7 separate regions of the Homo sapiens genome follow, and all the other regions are linked to region 1. Evidence: promoter capture Hi-C in 16 types of primary human blood cells and fetal thymus (Javierre and others, 2016). All regions are on one chromosome and are shown on one strand. Each heading gives the region's core, a stretch centred on a gene start or on the middle of the fragment in contact. The rest is flanking DNA. Distances are from core to core; before and after follow the strand shown. Region 1 holds the start of SHB (SH2 domain containing adaptor protein B). Region 2 has its middle 6.5 kb from the start of TOMM5. Region 3 overlaps IGFBPL1 (insulin like growth factor binding protein like 1). Region 4 overlaps LOC107987065 (a long non-coding RNA gene). Region 5 overlaps TRMT10B (tRNA methyltransferase 10B). Region 6 overlaps LOC107987065 (a long non-coding RNA gene). Region 7 overlaps LOC107987065 (a long non-coding RNA gene).

What was found. The method cuts DNA at HindIII sites, captures the fragments that hold promoters and counts their contacts. A CHiCAGO score of 5 or more calls a contact.
Region 2: a contact is called between a fragment that was not itself captured here and the fragment with the promoter of SHB in region 1, in 1 of 17 cell types (erythroblasts). The highest score is 5.5, in erythroblasts.
Region 3: a fragment that was not itself captured here is called in contact with the fragment with the promoter of SHB in region 1 in 1 of 17 cell types (megakaryocytes); the score reaches 5.6 in megakaryocytes.
Region 4: a contact is called between a fragment that was not itself captured here and the fragment with the promoter of SHB in region 1, in 5 of 17 cell types (megakaryocytes, erythroblasts, fetal thymus and 2 more). The highest score is 8.3, in megakaryocytes.
Region 5: a contact is called between a fragment that was not itself captured here and the fragment with the promoter of SHB in region 1, in 1 of 17 cell types (neutrophils). The highest score is 5.4, in neutrophils.
Region 6: a fragment that was not itself captured here is called in contact with the fragment with the promoter of SHB in region 1 in 4 of 17 cell types (megakaryocytes, endothelial precursors, M1 macrophages and 1 more); the score reaches 6.5 in megakaryocytes.
Region 7: a fragment that was not itself captured here is called in contact with the fragment with the promoter of SHB in region 1 in 2 of 17 cell types (megakaryocytes and M1 macrophages); the score reaches 5.4 in megakaryocytes.

The regions. Positions count from the first base shown.
Region 1 is chr9:38,067,777-38,070,576 of GRCh38, reverse strand. It overlaps SHB (SH2 domain containing adaptor protein B), which reads left to right and starts at 1,350. Exons shown (of 6, transcript NM_003028.3): 1 at 1,350-2,648. The coding sequence starts at 1,932. RefSeq lists silencers at 940-1,749, 2,170-2,219 and an enhancer at 2,110-2,800. The HindIII fragment of the contact is 5,108 bases long and covers 1-2,800 here.
Region 2 is chr9:37,584,654-37,587,453 of GRCh38, reverse strand. No RefSeq gene overlaps it. Among named protein-coding and RNA genes, the nearest start is that of TOMM5, 6.5 kb to the left of the region's middle. The HindIII fragment of the contact is 4,406 bases long and covers 1-2,800 here.
Region 3 is chr9:38,420,312-38,423,111 of GRCh38, reverse strand. All of the region lies in intron 1 of IGFBPL1 (insulin like growth factor binding protein like 1), which reads left to right. Among named protein-coding and RNA genes, the nearest start is that of IGFBPL1, 2.7 kb to the left of the region's middle. The HindIII fragment of the contact is 3,072 bases long and covers 1-2,800 here.
Region 4 is chr9:38,368,463-38,371,262 of GRCh38, reverse strand. The region is part of intron 1 of LOC107987065 (a long non-coding RNA gene); the gene reads right to left. All of the region lies in intron 2 of LOC105376040 (a long non-coding RNA gene), which reads left to right. Among named protein-coding and RNA genes, the nearest start is that of ALDH1B1, 23 kb to the left of the region's middle. The HindIII fragment of the contact is 6,205 bases long and covers 1-2,800 here.
Region 5 is chr9:37,774,488-37,777,287 of GRCh38, reverse strand. TRMT10B (tRNA methyltransferase 10B) reads right to left here. Exons shown (of 9, transcript NM_144964.4): 8 at 883-1,006. Among named protein-coding and RNA genes, the nearest start is that of EXOSC3, 9.2 kb to the left of the region's middle. The HindIII fragment of the contact is 5,813 bases long and covers 1-2,800 here.
Region 6 is chr9:38,352,352-38,355,151 of GRCh38, reverse strand. All of the region lies in intron 1 of LOC107987065 (a long non-coding RNA gene), which reads right to left. It overlaps LOC105376040 (a long non-coding RNA gene), which reads left to right. Exons shown (of 4, transcript XR_929605.1): 4 at 220-259. Among named protein-coding and RNA genes, the nearest start is that of ALDH1B1, 39 kb to the left of the region's middle. The HindIII fragment of the contact is 911 bases long and covers 883-1,793 here.
Region 7 is chr9:38,330,143-38,332,942 of GRCh38, reverse strand. The region is part of intron 1 of LOC107987065 (a long non-coding RNA gene); the gene reads right to left. Among named protein-coding and RNA genes, the nearest start is that of ALDH1B1, 61 kb to the left of the region's middle. The HindIII fragment of the contact is 4,837 bases long and covers 1-2,800 here.

The DNA.
Region 1 (2,800 bases), core at 101-2,600:
GATCCCAGGAAAAGTTACACTGACCAAATCAGGCCACTCCCTGGGACTGTTTCCTCAATTTTGGTTAATAATCAAAGGATGATCTGAAATCGCAAAGAAGAGACTCTTGGAAAAGACATAATTATGGTGCCACCCGACTTAGGAACTGGCATCCAAGTCCACCTGTGTGACTTTCCTCTGGGCCTCAGTTTCTCCATCTGTAAAATGAGGTCCTGTATTTATTTTTTGAGACGGAATCTCCCTCTGTCGCCCAGGCTGGAGTGAAGTGGTGTGATCTCGGCTCACTGCAACCTCTGCCTCCCAGGTTCAAGCAATTCTCTGCCTCAGCCTTCCGAGTAGCTGCTGGGATTACAGGTACCCGCCACCACACCCGGCTAATTTTTGTATTTTTAGTAGAGACGGGGTTTCACCATCTTGGCCAGGCTGGTATTAAACTCCTGACCTCGTGATCCACCCGCCTCGGCCTCCCAAAGTGCTGGGATTACAGGCGTGAGACACCGCACCCGGCCGAGGTCCTGTATTAAATGGATCCTTGCCAGCTCCTACAACATAAGGCATTAAATGTTCCCACAACTTGCTCCCCGCCGGCTGGCAGCGAACAGGGCTAAAGCCTCGACTTCCTCAGAGGTGAAAAGGTAAGCAAACATTCCGACCTCCCCTAGCCTTGCTCTCGGATTGGTGCTGGGCCCGGCTCCCACCGCCTATCCCGACCACATCCGTCATCTGGACTGCTAATACACTCATTAGCATAAAGATTCCTCCGAAGACCTGGCGCACGGGGCTGAACCGGAGTCTGTCCCTTTAAGGAAGAGGGACAGCCACTCTGTCCCTAAGGGCACTAGGCACTGCATTTCCTCCACACGGGCCACGCTGTAAACTAGACAGGTTCCGTGTTAATCCACTCTCCCTCCTCAACCCCGACAGGGGGATCCCTGGAGTGAACAACGCGCGGGGTCCCGGGGGACTGCGGAAAGGTTTGGCCTCTGCGCGTAGCAGGCTCCGCCAGGCAACCTCTCGCCCGAGGCGGCGGCGAGCTGCAAGCTAGGTGGAGCCGGCTGCGCGGCGGGACCCCAGCGCCCTGGGGCAAGACCCTGGTGCTGGCGCCAGGGCAGCCGCGGGAGGTGGCGTGTGCAGGAGCGGAGAGGTGCGCCCACCCCGGCCCCGGGCGCGAGGGGGGCGGGGCTTGGGCCGCGGCCCGGGGCCAGGCTCGCGGGGATGGGCGGTGCTGGGTCTGCGGGAGCGGGCGGGGGGCGGGGCGCGCGAGCGGGCTCCGGGGGGGCGGGGCGGCGGCGCGGGGCGGGCTCTGGCGGCCTGAGTGTCACACACGCGGCGGCTCGGGAGGCGGCGGCAGTGGCAGCGACAGGCGCCGCCGGGACGGGCACGGGCGCGCGGGCTCCGGCGGGCGCCGGCTGCCTTCCTCCGTCGCTCGCTGTCTCTCCCGGCCGCATTCTCCTCCGCTGCGGGGCCGAGCTCTCCCCAGCGCTCGCAGGAAGGAAGAAGGGAGCCGAGGACGCCGAGAAGTTCCCGCGGCAGCCGCGGATCCCGGCCAAGGCGGAGGCTGCGGCTCCGACGGGGCAGGAGCGCGATCCACGGCGAGGGGCGTACGGCCAAAGGGTCCGCGGCGTGGAGCGCTCGGACCTTCCGCTCTCCCCCGGGCGTGGGCCGGGACCCCATGAGACGCGCCCACGAGGGGCGCGAGATTCCTAGCTTGGGCGGCGCTAGGCGGAGGGAGGTGTTGCAGCCGCCGGAGCCAGAGAGCTGCCGGCAGGAGGCGGCGGCGGCAAGAACTTGAACTTGGCGTCGGGAGCGGGCGCCCCGGACGCCCCCCGCCGGGGCCGGGGCGCCGAGGGACCTGCGCCGCAGCGCTGCCCCCCGAATGGCCGCGGCGGCGGACCGGGCTCCCGCGCCGCGGCCCTAGGCGGCCTCTCGCCATGGCCAAGTGGCTAAACAAGTACTTCAGCTTGGGCAACAGCAAGACCAAGAGCCCCCCGCAGCCGCCGCGGCCAGACTACCGCGAGCAGCGGCGCCGAGGCGAGCGGCCTTCGCAGCCCCCCCAGGCCGTGCCGCAGGCCTCCTCCGCCGCCTCGGCGTCCTGCGGTCCGGCCACCGCCTCCTGCTTCTCAGCCTCTTCGGGCTCGCTGCCCGACGACAGCGGCAGCACCAGCGACCTCATCCGCGCCTACCGCGCGCAGAAGGAGCGAGACTTCGAGGACCCCTACAACGGGCCTGGCTCGTCGCTGCGCAAACTGCGCGCCATGTGCCGCCTGGACTACTGCGGCGGCAGCGGGGAGCCAGGCGGGGTCCAGCGCGCCTTCTCGGCCTCGTCCGCGTCGGGCGCCGCGGGCTGTTGCTGCGCCTCCTCGGGCGCGGGGGCCGCCGCGTCCTCGTCCTCGTCCTCCGGCTCTCCGCATCTCTACCGCAGCAGCAGCGAGCGGCGGCCCGCCACGCCGGCCGAGGTGCGCTACATCTCCCCCAAGCACCGCCTCATCAAAGTGGAGAGCGCCGCGGGCGGTGGGGCCGGGGACCCCCTGGGGGGCGCCTGCGCGGGCGGCCGCACCTGGAGCCCGACGGCCTGCGGAGGCAAGAAACTGCTCAACAAGTGCGCCGCCTCAGCCGCGGAGGAGAGCGGGGCCGGCAAGAAGGACAAGGTAAGGTGCCCCTTGGCCTCTTCCCGAGGTTCCAGAGCCACGGTGCGCACGGGGAAACCGAGGCACCCGCCGCTCTGGTGTTGAGTCTCTACTTCAGCTTCGGCCTAGGACCCTGGGTCGGGGCTGGCGTGCTGCTTCCCGCTTCTGCCTCC
Region 2 (2,800 bases), core at 83-2,582, 480 kb after region 1:
TTTTTTTTTTTTTTTTTTTTTTTTTAACACGGAGTCTTGCTCTGTCAACTAGGCTAGAGTGCAGTGGCATGATCTTGGCTCACTGCAACCTCCACCTCCCAGTTCAAGCGATTTTCCTGCCTTAGCCTCCCAAGTAGCTGGGATTACAGGCACGTGCCACCACGCCTGGCTAATTTTTGTATTTTTAGTAGAGACAGGGTTTTGCCATGTTGGCCAGGCTGGTCTCGAACTCCTGACCTCAGGTAATCTGCCCACCTCAGCCTCCCAAAGTGCTGGGATTATAGGCATGAGCCACTGTGCCTGGCCTTAAAAATGTCTTTATTCTATAGTTTGATGAATATAGGGTTCTAGATTAGCAATCATTTTCCTTCAGAATTTTAAAGCAAAGCCTCTAGCTTTCAGTGTTGCTGCTGAGAAATCTGAAATCATTCTGATTCCTGATTTTTTTGTGGGACTAAGTATTTCTTCCTGAGAAACAAGGATCTTTGTTCCTAGTATGCTTATATTCCATGATGACATCATTTAGTGTGTGTTTATTTTAATACACTGTGGTGGGCACTTGGTGAACCTATTTAAACTTGAAACTTGTATCTTTATTTCTCAAATTTTGTAGGTTTTAAAATAATTTTATTATTTTTTATGGGTATGTAAGTGTATATATTTATGGGGTGCATGAGATATTTTGATACAGGCATACAGTACCTAATAATCACATCAGGATAACGGGATTATCTGTCACCTCATTTATAATTTATTTATGTTACAAACATTCCAGTTATACTTTTAGTTATTTTTAGATGTACAGTAAATTATTATTGACTGTAATCACCCATTATGCTATCAAATACTAGAACTTATTCATTACATCTAACTATATTTTTGTACCCATTAGCCATCCCTGCATTCCTTCCCTAACCTTTCCTAGCCTCTGGTAACCATCATTCTACTCTGTCTCCATGAGTTCAGTCGTATTAATTTGTAGCATCCACCAATGAATGCTTATAGGTTTTTATTGATTTCCTCCCCTTCTTTTTCCTTCTGCTCTCTTTTTAGAACAATAGTACTTTTAATGTTTTCTTTTTCCTTTATATTCTATTTTATCTGTAATTGCTTTTCTCTTTTTTTGTTTCATGTTAGATGCTTTCCTTGGTTGTCTGCTCACACTTAAAAATTGGGAACTAACATGGATTAAAGGCCTGGAGTGGAGCTTGTTGATGTTGAACTTTGCCAAAGGGCCATCTATTGGGCCATTTTTGTTGAGAAAACTTTTTGCGTCTGTATCTTTAGTTATTTCCCATTGAGCTGGTCATTGCTCAGAGAACAAAGACTCTTCCAATCTCCCAAGTGCTGAATGAGGCCCTGCCAACGTTCTGGGATTCAAAGGAATAGGGCTGTGGTGAGGCTCAGGACAGACAGGTGTGTGTGTGTGTGTTTCAATATCCAGTATGTATTTGCTCACTGCGTCTCTGTTTTGAGTATAGTACCTCTGCCCAAACTGCCTGGCATCCCATAATCTAGAGACCTTCTATTTTACCCTTTTCAGAAAATAAACTTTTTATTTTTTGGAGACAGAGTTTTGCTCCAGGCTGGAGTGCAGTGGACGATCTTGGCTCGCTGCAACCTCTGCCTCCCTGACTCAAACGGTTCTTGTGCCTTAGCCACCTGAGTAGCTGGGATTACAGGCGCACACCACCATGCCTGTCTAATTTTTGTAGTTTTAGTAGAGATGATGTTTCATCATGTTGGCCAGGCTGGTCTCGAACTGCTGGCCTCAGGTGATCCGCCCATCTCAGCTTCCCAAAGTGCTGAGATTACAGGTGTGAGCCACTGCACCTGGCCTAAAAAAAAAAACTATCATTTTGAGAGGGTACTGTGTAATGGAGGCTGTTTTGCTGCATAGAGTTGCAGAGAGCATCTGATTACTTAAACCTTGCACCAATTCTTATTTTAATGTCTACCCTTCTACCCCTTATTGCTAGAGGCACCTGAAGCCACTAGTTTCTGAGCCTTTTAGGGATTCCATGATATAAATTAGGTTGTGAGTTTTTGTTGTTGTTTGGGGGTTCTTGTGGGTTTTTTTCTTTTTCTACCGCTGGCTCAGAATTCAGTTTTTCAGAGTCTACTACATTATTTACTGTTGATCTACCTATTTTCCAGCTTCTAACGTTTTATTCCTGTTTCCTCTTTTCTTCCATCCTTTTAGGTTTATATCTTAAAACAAAAACCTTTACCGTCATTTAATGGGATTTTTGGGAGGGAGTGGAGGTAGGTATACGTGCTTCATCTACCATCTTAACCTGGAAAGCATGTATTTTAATTCTGTGGTTTTGTATTTATTTCTTAAATTAAGAAGGTGTAGTGTATGGCACTGTGGTCATATGAATACTGGCTCTAAAGACAGGCAGACTTGATTTTGAATGTTGGCTCCAATACTTACGAGATGGGTGATTTTCAGCAAGTGAGCTCCGAATCTCATTTTCTTTAACTATAAAATTAGGATAATAGAAACATCTCTCTACTTCAAAGTGTCGTAAGGATTAAGTGAAAAAATGCAAGTAGAGCAGCTGGCACAATTGCTTGACATTTGGTAAATGTTATTAATGGCTAGTCTTTGGTATAAGGCATTTAGAAGTGATTTGTGCTGGCATTCACAGCATAGACAGATCTCATTCCTATTTCCAGATGCTCTGAGATAGCATACTCATCCTCTAATTGTGTACAAACTTCAAACTTACCAAACACTTAAGTTCATTATCTAAAAATAGCCTTAACCAATCAATAATAATGCCATTTTACAGGT
Region 3 (2,800 bases), core at 162-2,661, 350 kb before region 1:
GTGTATTCCACCCACTAGGTTTTGAAGTGCCGCTGTGTACTTTGCCTGGAGTGGGCAGTGCTGAGTTTAGGGTGAGTGAGAAGGTGGCCAGTGAGTCCCAAGGAGCCTGGGTTTCGGCCTGGAGTTCAGGCTTCTGGGAAATAATTCTGGCCTGAGCCCAGAGACCAAGTCCAGACTTTAGTGCCTAAGTCAGTGTAATGACTTAGCTTCAAGAAAGAAGCCTGGGGTGGGGTGAGACCTTTCCAAGCCTTAAGAAGTATCTAGTAGTCTTTCCTCTCAAGTAGTTCAGGTAGATGTACCCAAGTCCAGGAGACGCAATGGGTTGTTGGAGATGGGGCAGGAAGCCTCCAGTCCTGGGAAATGTAAAACCAGTGTGTGGCCAGTTGAGCACAGGAAAGTCACCATTGGCTGTTCCTAGCTGAAGCTCCCCATGGAGGACAGAGCTGGCTGGGGGTGCATCTGTGCTGCCGCTGGCTCCCTGAGTGGCCCTGGACGGGTCCCTTCCCCTCTCTGGCCATATCAGCCCCAGTGGAGTCATTGTTGAGGTCCCTTTCACTCGGAACAGTTGGTTTCCGCCCTGTGGCACTTAAACAGTCCTGTCTCTTTCCTTTTGCTAGTTCCTATCACTCGTTTTTATAACTGCTTTCCTCAGCCGTTAATTCACAGGCAATTCTCTTTGTCTCCAGACAGGTAACACTTTTAACTCCACATGCAGGAGACAGAAGAAATGCTGACCAGGTCCTCAGACTATAAATGCTGCTGATGATCTCAGATAATTTCTCCCCAGAGTGGCATTCTCTTCCTAAGAGAAAGGCACCTTAAAGACATTCAGACCAAATCTGCTGTTATACAGAGAAAGAGACTGAGACACAGCAAGGTCAGAGCCCTTGTCCAGGGTGACCAGTAAAGGATGACCAGCTCCCTGGTCCCAACACCCTGTCCAGTGCTCTTTTGGCACAGGACTTAATAGTATTAAGTCAGGCAGATGGTGGTTACCATGGTTACCAGAGTGAGGCCAGATGGCAGATGGAAACTCCATACCCCTAATTCACTGAAAATTACCAAATGACAAGTAAATGTGACAGCCCCTTCACTCTGATCTATGGGATCTGAGGCCCACCCCAGGCACAGACCCAGGGAATAAAGATATTCGTGGGGCCACATGGAAGCAACTCAGAACTGGTTTTCATGATCTCATTACTGACAGGCGTCAGGCCTCCCCGGGGTTCAGCCCTTCTTCCGCACCAGCCTTTGTGTCATCCACCACAGAACCGGGCACTGTTTGCCTGTCACTCTCTGTCCTGAAGTGCTAGTGTGGCCTCTGCCCTTGTGTCCAGATAAAGCATGAAGGTTTGGACAGGGGATGTTTCCTAGCCCAGGCAGCAGCTCATTCTGTGCTGCCCTAAAGCCATCTTTTATTCACAAGACACAGCGGGAGCGTTTTTTAACAATGCCTCTGGGGATCCCGGTTGAAGGAAAACAGACTGTGAGTCAGAGCAGGGCTGTTCTGCTTCAATATTCATGATAAAATCACCCCTCCTGACTCCTTGGGTACCCAAGCACCTAGATTTCATGGAATGAGGCCTCGGGAAGTATTTATTATGTTGTTCACAGTGTGTGAAGGGCCCTTATACATGCCTCTGAGGAGCCTGGGGAAGCAGTTTTCAGGCTTAAATTCTGCCCTTTCCTCCTATGCCCTGAAATGCCCCAAACTGCCACATAATGAGAGTGATCCTTTGATCCGCACACATGTATGGAAGACTCACATATGAATAATTCTTACTGTTGGAAATTGCTTTTGCATCCTTTTTTTTTTTTTTTTTTTTTGAGACAGGGTCTCACTGTATCTCCCAGGTGGAATACAATGGCTTGATCACAGCCCACTGTGATCCTGGGCTCAAGGAATCCTCCTGCCTCAGCCTCCCAAGTAGCTGGGACTATAGGCACATACCATCATGCCCAGCTGATTTTTAGAATTTTTTGTAGAGACAGGATCTTACTGTGTTTCCCAGGCTGTTCTTGAACTCCTGGCCTCAAGCACTCCTCCCACCTCAGCCTCCCAAAGTGCTGAAATTACAGACATGAGATACCATCCCTGGGCTGCACCCATCTTTTTACATGATTTTTACAAGTGTCCTGGGGAGGTCTCCTTCCCATTTGATAGAAGGGAAAGCTGAGGCACATGGAAGGAAATTCCCTGGAGCCACCTGGCTGGTCCCAGCTGTGAAAGGGCTCCAGTGTAGGTTTGCCTGGCTGTTTTGTTTTGTTTTGTTTTGAGACAGAGTCTCACTCTGTCACCCAGGCTGGAGTGCAGTGGTGTGATCTTGGCTCACTGCAAGCTCCACCTCCTGGGTTCACGCCATTCTCCTGCCTCAGCCTCCAGAGTAGCTGGGACTACAGGCGCCCACCACCACGCCTGGCTAATTTTGTTTTTTGTACTTTTAGTAGAGACGGGGTTTCACTGTGTTAGTCAGGATGGTCTTGATCTCCTACCTCATGATCTGCCCGCCTCGGCCTCCCAAAGTGCTGGGATTACAGGCGTGCGCCACCATGCCTGGCCTGCCTCGCTATTTTCAGATGGGCGCTGCACAGCTAGCCGCTAGCAACCTGATCAGTAAGGTGCTGTGCACCCGCCAGCCTTGAATCTTGGGGGTTTCTCAATCTGGGTCCACCTTCCTGTTTTTCCCAAGGTTTGTCACTTGTCCCTCTATTTAGCACTGGGCTATAGCTCCTGAGAGAAGCCTTGAAGGATGGGGAGAGAATCCCAATGCTAGCAAGGGGGAGGCACAGCATGAACTGA
Region 4 (2,800 bases), core at 109-2,608, 300 kb before region 1:
CCTGTTGCTGAATCCAGATCGCACTCTGCCTGTTTTCCTCACTGGCTTCTGGGCATTTCCCTTCCTGCTCTTGAGCTCAGTTTCCTCATCTGTACACTGACTCAGTGGATCCTTCAAAGCGACCTTGACTCCCAGGCAGCCACACTTTCCCCAACATTTCTACCTGCTCCAGGCAGGTGAGACTCAGCTGGAGGCCAGAAGGAAAGCAATGGATTAGAATGATTCACACCAGGGAGTGAATGGCTGACCTCCCTACCACTCCCCTCCTTCCTTATCTTAGCCTTAAAATAAAAAACAAACACACACAAACAAAAACACCAGGGCAGTATCCTGGTGGCATCTTATGTGGACTGAAGAAGAGATGGGAACTAATGAGGAAGACAGGTGAGTGTGGGAACAGAAACCTCCACAGCTTGAGACCAAACCTCAGGCTCTGGAATCAGACAGAGCTGAGCTCAAATCAGTTCTGTCACTGACCAGAATTGTGGCCTTGGCAAGTTCTTGCCCTCTCTGAGTCTCAGTTTCCACATCTGTAAAAGAGAATAACAACCCCTGCCTCTGTGACTTGTAATGACTTTTGAACAAGATAACACACATGCAGTGCCCAGCACCGAGCTGTGCTCCTGATGGGTGCAAGGAGGTGTGGAGTCTCCTTCCTTCTTTCCTTGTATCCCACCACAGGATGTAGGCTTCCTCCCACCTCTACCTCCGGATCTGGGTGTATGGGCCATGAGTAGGGTGGTCTGACCCTGCCATCCAGGATGGGAGTGTGGCAGGTGACCTCCCTCCCAGAAGCCCCTCACCCTACATTCTCTGGCTGGGTGCAGATTTTGGAAGCTGAGGGTTGGCTGTGGGACAGGCCTGGCTCCAGACTATGGGGTGCCAGCCGGGGTGGCAGCAGGAAGCAGCTTGCCTCGAGGCAAGTTTGGCTCAGCCCACTGCTTTGTTTAGCTTCATACACTCAACTCCTCGCTTCTATTTGAAAACCTGAGTCTGATGGGATGGCCTGGCAGCTGGTGAGAAATGTGGGGAGCTGCATCTGGGCAGTGGGAGGCCTGACTGCATGTATGTGACAGCCTGGCCCTCTCTCTGCCTGGAATGGCATTCATTCATTCACTCATTCAGCCATCAAATATCTACTAGGTGCCTGCCATCTCCCAGGCTCTGTGATAAATGCTGGGATCCAGCTGCTGGGCAAGACTGACATGGCCCCTGCTCTCCAGGATCTGGGTGTGTTGGCTGGGAAAGGGCCATTACTCAAAGGAAGCACAAGCTGGTGTAAAGTGGTCAGTGCTCTCAGGGGTGGGCATATACTATCATTAAGGTGTGTAATGGGCATTAACCAGGTGGAAGGGAGAGTGACTTTGTTCCGGCCAATCCAGTCATCCAACAATGACTTATATCTATTCCGTGCTGGACCCTGTACTAAGCCCTTGATCGAATTGTCACTCTACTCACCAGAAGCTCCTTGAGGGCTGTGCTGAGGAGTAGTTATTCTCCCCTGGACCTTCCCTGCAAGACCCCAGCTTGATTGTGCAGAAGGGACTCAGATACTGGAACTGGAATTAAAAGCCATGCAGAAAAGCAGAGAATCCTTCTTGGCTGAATAGGGATTTCATGGAGGATCCCAGGTTATCACCGGCATTACTTGGAATGCTGGGGAAATGAGAGACTCAGGATTGAGTCCTGATTCTGCTACTCACAGGCTGTGTGACCTCAGGCAAGCCCTTTCCCTCTCTTGTCTTTAATTTCCCCTCTTATACAAGAAAGGGGTTGAAGCAGGTCAACTCCAGAGTCCAGGTCACAGAGCTCAGGACAAGGTCTAGTACAGAACAGGGGCCTGGGAATGCCTATGTCATTTGTCACAAGGGGCCAGATGCAGCCAGGTTTGGGGATGGGACAAGCAGCACTAATTGGTGTCATTAACACTTTCATCCTACCTGTTCCTAAATTGGGATTATTTTGTAATCTGATGATTACATGTTTATAGTAATTAGCATGTAATTTTATAGTAAATAGTGTGTTTATAGTAATTATCAGATCATTGGGTCTGACAGGCAAATTTCTTTTTAAAGTTTGATGTTAAATATATTTTAAAGTGATCATAATTTATTGATTTTTTTAAAAAGAACAATGATAATATGGCGATAGGTTCTGGGACACATGAGATAGGATTCTAGATCAAAAAGGAAGCAGAGATTTGCTTCCAAAGAATAGAATGTAGAAAAGGAAATAGCAGCTTCACCATGGAGAAACCTGGCAGACTCCACTTTACCCAAGTGATCCAGGTGAGCCTCCCCAGTGATGTCATGTGGCTATCATGTATCCATTGGTATGATGTAGCCAGAGGGCACTTCATCTCTGTTGAGTGTTTTCCATAAACCTTAACCTGTCTAAGCATGAGAAGAACGTTAAACAAACCCAGATTGGGGACATTCTACAAGATCCCCAGTCAGTCCTCCTTAGAACTGTCAAAGTCATGGAAAACAAGGAAAGACTGAGAAACTATCCCAGACCAGAGGGGACCATGGAGACTCATGACAACTAAATACAATATATGCTGGATGGGATACCAGTGCAAAAAGAGGACATTAATGGGAAGACTGGTGAAATCTAAGTAAAGTCTAGACTTTACTTATTAGTAATGTACCAATATCAAATGTCTTTGTTTTGATGTGTATAGCATGATAATGTACAATGTTAACAATGGAGGAAACTGGATAAGGGGTACATGGAAATTCTCGGTACTATATATGTAAATTTCTTGTAAATCTGAAATTATTCCAAAATAAAATGTTTA
Region 5 (2,800 bases), core at 222-2,721, 290 kb after region 1:
ACAGGAATTCAGTGGTGAGAGGTTAAAAGCTGGGCATTCTAGATGAAGGGGACAATTTTTTTTTTTTTTTTTTTTTTTTTTTTTTTTTTTTTTGAGGCGGAGTTGCACTCTTGTTGCTCAGGCTGGAGTGCAATGGCACGATCTCAGCTCACCGCAACCTGCACCTCCCAGATTCAAGCAATTCTCTTGCCTCAGCCTCCAGATTAGCTGGGATTACAGGCGCCTGCCACTATGCCCTGCTAATTTTTGTATTTTTAGTAGAGACGGTGTTTCTCCATGTTGGTCAGGCTGGTCTCGACCTCCCGACCTCAGGTGATCTGCCCACCTCAGCCTCCCAAAGTGCTGGGATTACAGGTGTGAGCCACCGTGCCCAGCTTTTTTTTTTGTTTTTGAGACAGAGTATCACTGTCACCCAGGCTGGAGTGCAGTGGTGTGATCTCGGCTCACTGCAACCTCCACTTCCCAGGTTCAAGTGGTTCTCATGCCTCAGCCTCTGGAATAATTGGTATTACAGGCGTGCACCACCACGCCTGACTGATTTTTGTATTTTAGTAGAGATGGGGTTTCACCATGTTGGCCAGGCTGGTTTCGAACTCCTAACCTCAGGTGATCCACCCACCTCGGCCTCTGAAAGTGGATTACAGGATTACAGGTGTGAGCCACTGCACCTGGCCAAGGGGACAATTTCAACTATCTTTAACATAGTTGGTGACGAAGAAAACAGAATGCCTCTTAGTGGCCAGAATATATGTCATGACGTACATGCAATAAAGTCCACACACATTAGTCACAGAGGAGACTGACTCAAAGGCCACTTAAACACAGTGCAAAGCAGCAGCACCAGAACTCACACACCCTGGATGGGGGCCGTGTAAGAAGTACCTTGATTGATGGCCAGTATCTCTGAATGATAGTTTTTCCCATTCTGGTTTCTGACCATGTATTCCTGGATTGGCAAGCGTGCGGTCTTGACAGAGTATTCCCGGGCCTTTTGAAATGTCACCTTCTGTAAATATATAGTTAAATATTTTTCTTATAAAAATTATACATGAGTATATTCTCAATGTAATACAGCATTAAAAATAAGTAGCCTATTGTGGAATGGAAGAAACTGCAGATAATGAGTTAACTGTCTCAAGAGCTTATGTGACAATATCTTACTTTTTGGGGGGTCACTCATCCACAGTCCTCCACTCACTGCCACTTAGAACCAAGAGGGAAATAAGCAAAAGAGGCACATCTGCAGCCACAGTAGGCATCAAAAGGCCCAAGCAGTCTAATCAATCAGAGCACATTCTGAGCCCTAACTCAGTAAGACCCAATTCTGGATATCTGGAACTTCCAGCTCATTGCCAAAAGGCAGCATCAAATTAGAGGAAAAGGTAGACAAGATTCAAGACAGGTGCACCACTGCAACAAGTGGCATTAGGGTGTGAGAAGAGAGAGCCCAATTAAAAGAAAGGGGCCAGGTGAAGTGCCTCACACAACACTTTGAGGCCAAGGCCAGAGGACTGCTTGAGCCCAGGAGTTCAAGACCAGCCTGAGCAACATAGGGAGATCCTGTCTCTACAAATAACAAAAAAAAAATTAACAGGGTGTGCTGGTGTGTGCCTGTAGTCCCAGCTACTCTGGAGGCTGAAGTTGGATGATCACTTGAGCCTGGGACATATATCAAGGCTGCAATGAGCTGTGACTGCACCACTGCACTCCAGCCTGGGTGACAGAGGAGACCCTGTCTCAAAAATATAAAAGGGCGGGCTCTGAAAACTGCAAAAAGGAGTCACAAGAAGTCCATCAACTTGAGGCCATTTAGTGTCAGAGTACAGAAACTGATGTCCCTTTATAAGATGTTCCTTAGTCATGAAGTCCCTCAGACTGAGTCATGACTCAGTCAGATTACATTTGCTGCCTTGTAAGAAGCACAGGAAAGATTTTCTACCTAAGACTTCAGGATTAAAGAGAAAGGTTCAGATTACTGGGATAATTAACATGCCAAGGCTTGGAAGGGGTCTCAATAGTGTTAACTGTATCACTCTAACCACCCATTCATTGTCTGTTCTCTATGACTTCTCCAAGAGGCCATGTGGCCACTCAATGGACAGCTCTTGTGACAGGGAGTTCATGCATCCTGGGACAACCCACTCCAGTTTTGATAGTACCAGCTGATAGGAAATTCTTCTTGATCTTGAGCAAAATTCTGTTTTCTTTGAGACTTCCACTCATTCATCCTAGGTCTATTCCCCCAAGGCCAAACCATGCAAGTAAGATGGCCCTTCCAAAAGATGGCCATTCAGAAACTTGAAGGCAGTGATCATGCCCCTAGGAATCCTCTAGTCTCCAGATTGTAGCCTCAGTTCTGTCAACTCTTCTTTGAATTTCAAGTCCCTTCATCATTCAGGACAAGTTGAACTTGTTCTAAGCTAGTCCAGTATCATTTTGTTTACGGTCCCATAACTGACTGGCCATCATGAGTATGGTCTAACCAGGTGGAATAGTGTGAAGTGGACCTAGTACCTTTTCGGTGCTGACACCTGCCTCACATGAAACAAAATTTTAGATAGAACTTCCAAAAATGTTTTAAGCGATACAGGGACTTATTTGAAAGGATAAAACTCCTTTGCATATATGAGCTATATGATACGTTTGTTTTATAAAAAGTCTTATTCCTTTATAATCACTTTGAAGTACAGAATTCAAAATTAGGATATTTGGGTGTTGCCCTAGAAGAGCTTACAATTTAGTTTATGTTCTTTGCACAATGATTCATAATAAAATGACTCTCCTTGAAGAAATGTTGTTC
Region 6 (2,800 bases), core at 89-2,588, 280 kb before region 1:
CTCCCTCCCTCCCCTTCCTTCTTCCTCTCCCTCTTTCTTCCCTGTGTTCCATGAATGAATGGGCTTACTCTGTTTCCCTTTTAGGGATTGCTATGGTTTGGATCTGTGTCCCCACCAAATCTCATGTTGAATTTTCATACCTAATGTTGGAGGTGAGCCTGGTGGGAGGTGATTGGGTCATTAAGTTGGATTTTTTGTGATGGCTTTTCTGTCCTTCAGTCCCAAAGGTCATCTCAGAGCAGCAGCAGCAGCAGCAGCAGCAGCAGCAGCAGCAGCAGCAGCAGACAAGCTTTGAGGGGCCCAAAAAGCAGGCCTAGCACCGTCCCCTTGGTGCTGTTCTCGCGATAGTGAGTGAGTTCTCCTGAGATATCTGTTCATTTAAAAGCGTGTGGCACCTCTACCCTGTCTCTTGCTGGCTTCTCCTCCCACTGTGTGACGTGCCTGCTCCCCCTGTGCCTTCTGCCATGATTGTAAGTTTCCTGAGGCCTTCCCTGAAGCTGAGCAGATGCCAGCATCCTGCATCCTGTAAAGCCTGAAGAACTGTGAGCCAATGAAACCTCTTTTCTTTATAAAATACCCTGTCTCATGTATTTCTTTATAGCAATGCAAGAATGGCCTAATACAGGGATATTTGGCTAGATGGGCTGGTATGAGTAGACATGTGATTAATATCATTTAACCATCCTAGGTGACATCATTCCAGCTGCCCAGCTCTACTCCAGCCTTTGCTTGCACACCTCCAGCCCCTGAAAGCTCACTACCTCAGGGGCCAGCCCATGTCACTGACCACAAGAAGGCTCTTCCCTGAGCTGAGCTGCCACCTGCCCCCCAAAAGAGTTCCATCTCATGTGCTAGGCCTGCTTTCTGGGACCTCTCAAAGCTTGTCTGCTGCTGCTGCTGCTGCTCTGAGATGACCTTTGGGACTGAGAGACAGAGATCTCATGCCTCCCGGGGGTCTCCCTCTGTGCTGGACAGCGCACCCCTCTCAATGTCTCATCCTTTGCAAGGAGGCACCATTTGCGTCATACAGTCACATGTGTATAGTTTCCATCATGCTATAAATAGCCTTTTGTGCTCCTTTTTTAAATTAAAAATACATTGTAAACATTGTTCCACATGCTATGCCTAATCCTCAAAACACAACTACCCTTTTAAGCACTTCAGGGTATTCTGTGTGGAACCTCATGGATGGCTTCCCCATCTTCCACTGACGCATGCATACCTCGCTTTTCAAATGTTTTCACGGCATCTTTGTTGATTTGGCGTTTTCCTCCTGTTGAATAATCTCCTCAGGAGAAATTCACATTAGTGAGATGCCTGGATCATTTATCTTGATTTGACTTTTGGTACATATTATTAGATCGCCTTGCAAAATGTCTGCTACAGGATAAGTTTTACCTCCCCAGCGGAGTGTATCACTTCAGCTAGAAACTCATTTTAATATACATATTTTTTTATTTTGTGGGAATAAAGCCATCTCGAGGTTGTTTTAATTTGATATCTTGCACCGAGGATTAAAGAAAAGTAAAGCAAAAGAGGGGGGAAAGACATTTTTCTTTGTGTTGGATTGTTATTTGTCTTTCTCCGGTGTGAATTGTCTGTTTGAACCCTTTGCTCATTTACATATTGGGGTATTGATGTTTTGCTTACAAATTCCAGTGAGCTCTTGAATTAAACCTTAGTCTGTCCTTAGACTAAGGTTTCTCCCTAGAACTTTCACTTTTATTTTAATCATGTTGCTCTTCCTGTTTTCTGCCTGGGGGAGCCCACCATTTAGGACTAGAAGACAAGCTTGGGCACTGACTGCCCAGCTCCTACAACTGGCACCACCGAGGTCCCAAAGAAGAATATTAATAAAAGCACTGTACTGGATGCTCTGGGTATATCTCTTCTACTCCTCAAAGTAACCCTGACAGGACATTGTGCCTATGTTACAGATGTGGAAACAGGCTCAGAGGGGTGGCGCGTGTGCTGCAGGTCTCACAGCAGGCACACCAGAGGTGGTGCAGGTAAGCATTGTCTCTGGGTTTGTTATCCTTTTCCACAATACCAGCAGCCTGCGGAGGAGTAAGAAAACATCTGCTGCCAACATCTCCAGGTTTGTGACTTCAAACTCCCCTGGCAGAGGAGGGAACTACCATATTTGGGGACAATTTACATCAAATTACCATGCACCAGCCAACAGCTGCCGCCTGGAGCGGGAGGCTGGCTGCACAGAGCCATCACATTTATACACATGATAATGAAAACCCGCACGCGGGCCTCCACGTTCTCCCATAAATATGGTCATTATGATCTTGTTGGCATTGCTTGTTGAATTCCATCTTGCAAATTGTTTCCTGGTTGCCTAGGGGAGCTGACTTGGGCTCTTCTCAGTCTCCTTTCCTCTAGACATGACAGTGTTTGGGGTTTGCCCACTGTCCTCAGACCATCCTCTGGCACAATTCTCAGGACAGCCTCCACCCCATGCTATGAGCAGTCAGCAAGTTCCCACTGTGTGCACCATGCGTGGGACTGATTGCAGAGAGCCGCAGAGCTGAGAGGGCTCTCAGGGCAGCTGACAGGCCCACTCCTGCATTTTACAGACTGACAGGATACAGGACAGGAGTGGGGTCAAAGTCCAAGATTAAAAAGGACCCTTTGCATACCCTCCCTGTGCTGAACCCTGGAAGGGTAGCACACAAACCTCCCCAGGGCACCCAGGGCTTAGGCAGGCCATGGCTCAAAGTCCGCACTGTAAATAATAGAAATCTTTCTCAGCTAGCTGGAGGACAGGGAGTGGCAGTGAGGAGATTTGTTA
Region 7 (2,800 bases), core at 178-2,677, 260 kb before region 1:
TGTCATGGGTCACCATGCGCATTCGCTTGTCCACACTGCCAACATACTTATTTTTCAGGACTGTGCACATCTGATCCTGCCTCTGGCCTTCACACACAGAACAAATGCTGTACCTGGTATTCAAGGCCTTCATTATCTGACTGCAAACCTGCTTTCCCCTCCTCCCGCACCTCAGCCCCCACCACCTGTTCTCCTACCATGGAATGATTTACATTCTTCAAACACACTCCTTGGAACATTTGGTTCTAGTCTTCTGTCTCCTCTTCCATCTGGGGAACGCCTGTACCATCCTCTCCCACCACTCCTGTGAGCTTTATTTTGACTCATTTCTTCATTATCTAGGATACTTACTGAGTGATATGGTTTGGATTTGTGTCCCTGCCCAAATCTCATGTCGAATTGTAATCTCCAATGTTGGAGGAGGGGCCTGGTGGGAGGCGATTGGATCAAGGGGGTGGATTTCCCCCCTTATTGTTCTCCTGATAGTGAGTTAGTTCTCACAAGATCTGGTTGTTTAAAAGCGTGTAGCTCCCCCACCCTTCTCTCTCTTGCTTCTGTCCCAGCCATGTAAGACATGCTTGCTTCCTCTTTGCTTTCCACCATGATTGTAAGTTTCCTGAGGCCTCCCCAGCCATGCTTCCTGTACAGCCTGCAGAACTCTGAGCCAATTAAACCTCTTTTCTTTATAAATTACCCAGTCTCAGGTATTTCTTTATAGCAGTGTGAGAACAGACTAATATAGTGAAGTAGACAGAATGATAGCCCCCAAAAGATGTCTACATTTGAATCCTTGGACCCTGAGAATATGTTACATGGTAAAAGGGGTTTTGCAGATGTTACTAAGGTTAAGGATGTTAAGATAGTAAGAGTACCCTGGATTATCCAGGTGGGTTCAATCTAATTGCATAAATCACATCAAAGTAGAGAGGCTCCTGGCTGTGACCACAGAAAGAGACGTAATTATAGAAGCAAGTCAGAGAGGGGGCAGCATGAGAAGGACTTGCCCTGCCATTGCCACCGTTGGTGATGGAGGAAGGCGCCATGAGTGAAGGAGCAGACAGCCTTCACAAGCTAGTAAAGGCCAGGAAATAGACTCTCCCCTCGAGCCTCCAGAAAGTAACCAGCCCTGCTGACACCTTGACTTTAGCCTAGTGAGAGACCCATGTCAGACTTCTGACCTATAGAACTAGAAGGTGATACATCTGTGTTGTTTTAAGCCACTAAGTTTGTGGCGATTCGTTACAGCAACAATGGAAAATGAATATTCCAGTAATTTGTTTTTTTTTTTCAAGGCTATGAAGAGTTACACTTTCTGAGGCTCTGGATATCTGAGAATGTCTCCCTATTGCTGTCCCCTATGAACAATAAATAATTCAGCTGACTTTATAAAGGGTTATTGGGTCATACTCTTTTAAACTAAAAATCTGCAAATGTTGTTTCATTGTTGTGCTGGAAAGGGCTAACACAGCAGGCCTGAGGCTATATCCTCAGAAAAACCTGCTGTCAAGGTTGGCCCTTGGCTGGTGTCTGGGAACTTGGATTTCGGGAGGGTTCCATCATTCTCCGAATGGATCGGAGCAGCTCACTGTGCTTAAGCTGTACAAACAATATGCTTTATGCCGAACACCTGTTTTTCTTCTGGGATTCTGAAATTTTCGTGTGTGCCAGCCAGAGGGTGCCTTAGCGACCAGACCCCAGTAGTACTTCAGGCACTGAATCTCTAGTGAGCATCCTGGTAGACAGCATTTCACGCATGTTGCCATTATTCGTTTGCTGTTGGAATTAAGGGTGCCCTGTGCAACTCCCCTGGGAGAGGTCTCTTGGGAGCTTGTGTCTGGTTTCCCCTTGACTTCGCCCCATGCACCTTTTTTCCTTTTGTTGATTTTGATTTGTATCTTTTCACGGTAATAAATGTACTCACAGCTATGTAATGCTGTGAGCAGTAGTACTCACAGCTATGTAATAGATGTACTACTACATGCTGGGCCCTGAGAGTTCTCCTAGCAAGCCATCAAACCTGGAGGTTGTGTTGGAGACTCCTGACACAGATGTGTCATTGTAGCATTTAGTGCCATGGGGGAAAACTTTGATGCCCGTAACTCCACTCACCCCTTCATAGAAATCCTTTTCTTTTCTTTTTTCCTTATCTGGATATTTATAATCATTTTTCTTTATCCTTGAAATTAAAATAAAATCACTAAAGTCAGTCTAGATGCGCGTCTCTTTTCATTACTTTTCCCTGGTAGTCAATGATCATTTTTAATCTAAACATGCCAGTCTTTAGCTAGGGGAGGTTTTTATCTAGTGTAGCAGGTATTACTGTCAAAATTAAACTTCTTTTTTCTCCTCTAATTTAAAAGAGAAGTGGCACAGAGTCACCTTCATCACTCTTGGAATGCAGGGAAATTCTTTGTGCAAATAGCCTCTTCCCAAGACCACTGAGACAATTACAATGTATCATTGGGTGGGTGGGCACCAGGCCTTTGTGTCTGAGGGCAGGGAGGTCACCAGGAATTGGGTACCTGCTGAAACCCCTCCTGACCCTGGATTACAACCCCTGGTTGTTGGTGCTGGTGAACACAGAAAGGACTGGAGTGGAAGGGCATGTGTGTCCAGTGCTAGGCACTAGCCAGAACAGAGGACGCAGTCCCTTCCACGCCTTGGGGTGCTCACCAAGGCGGTCAGTCCCCGGCCCCAGCTATTGCAGCTTGACTCACTGCCCGCGGTGTTGCACAGTTATTGCGTGGGTCAAGGACATGGCTGTTGCTGTATTCCAAAGATGACAATTGATAATTCCCGC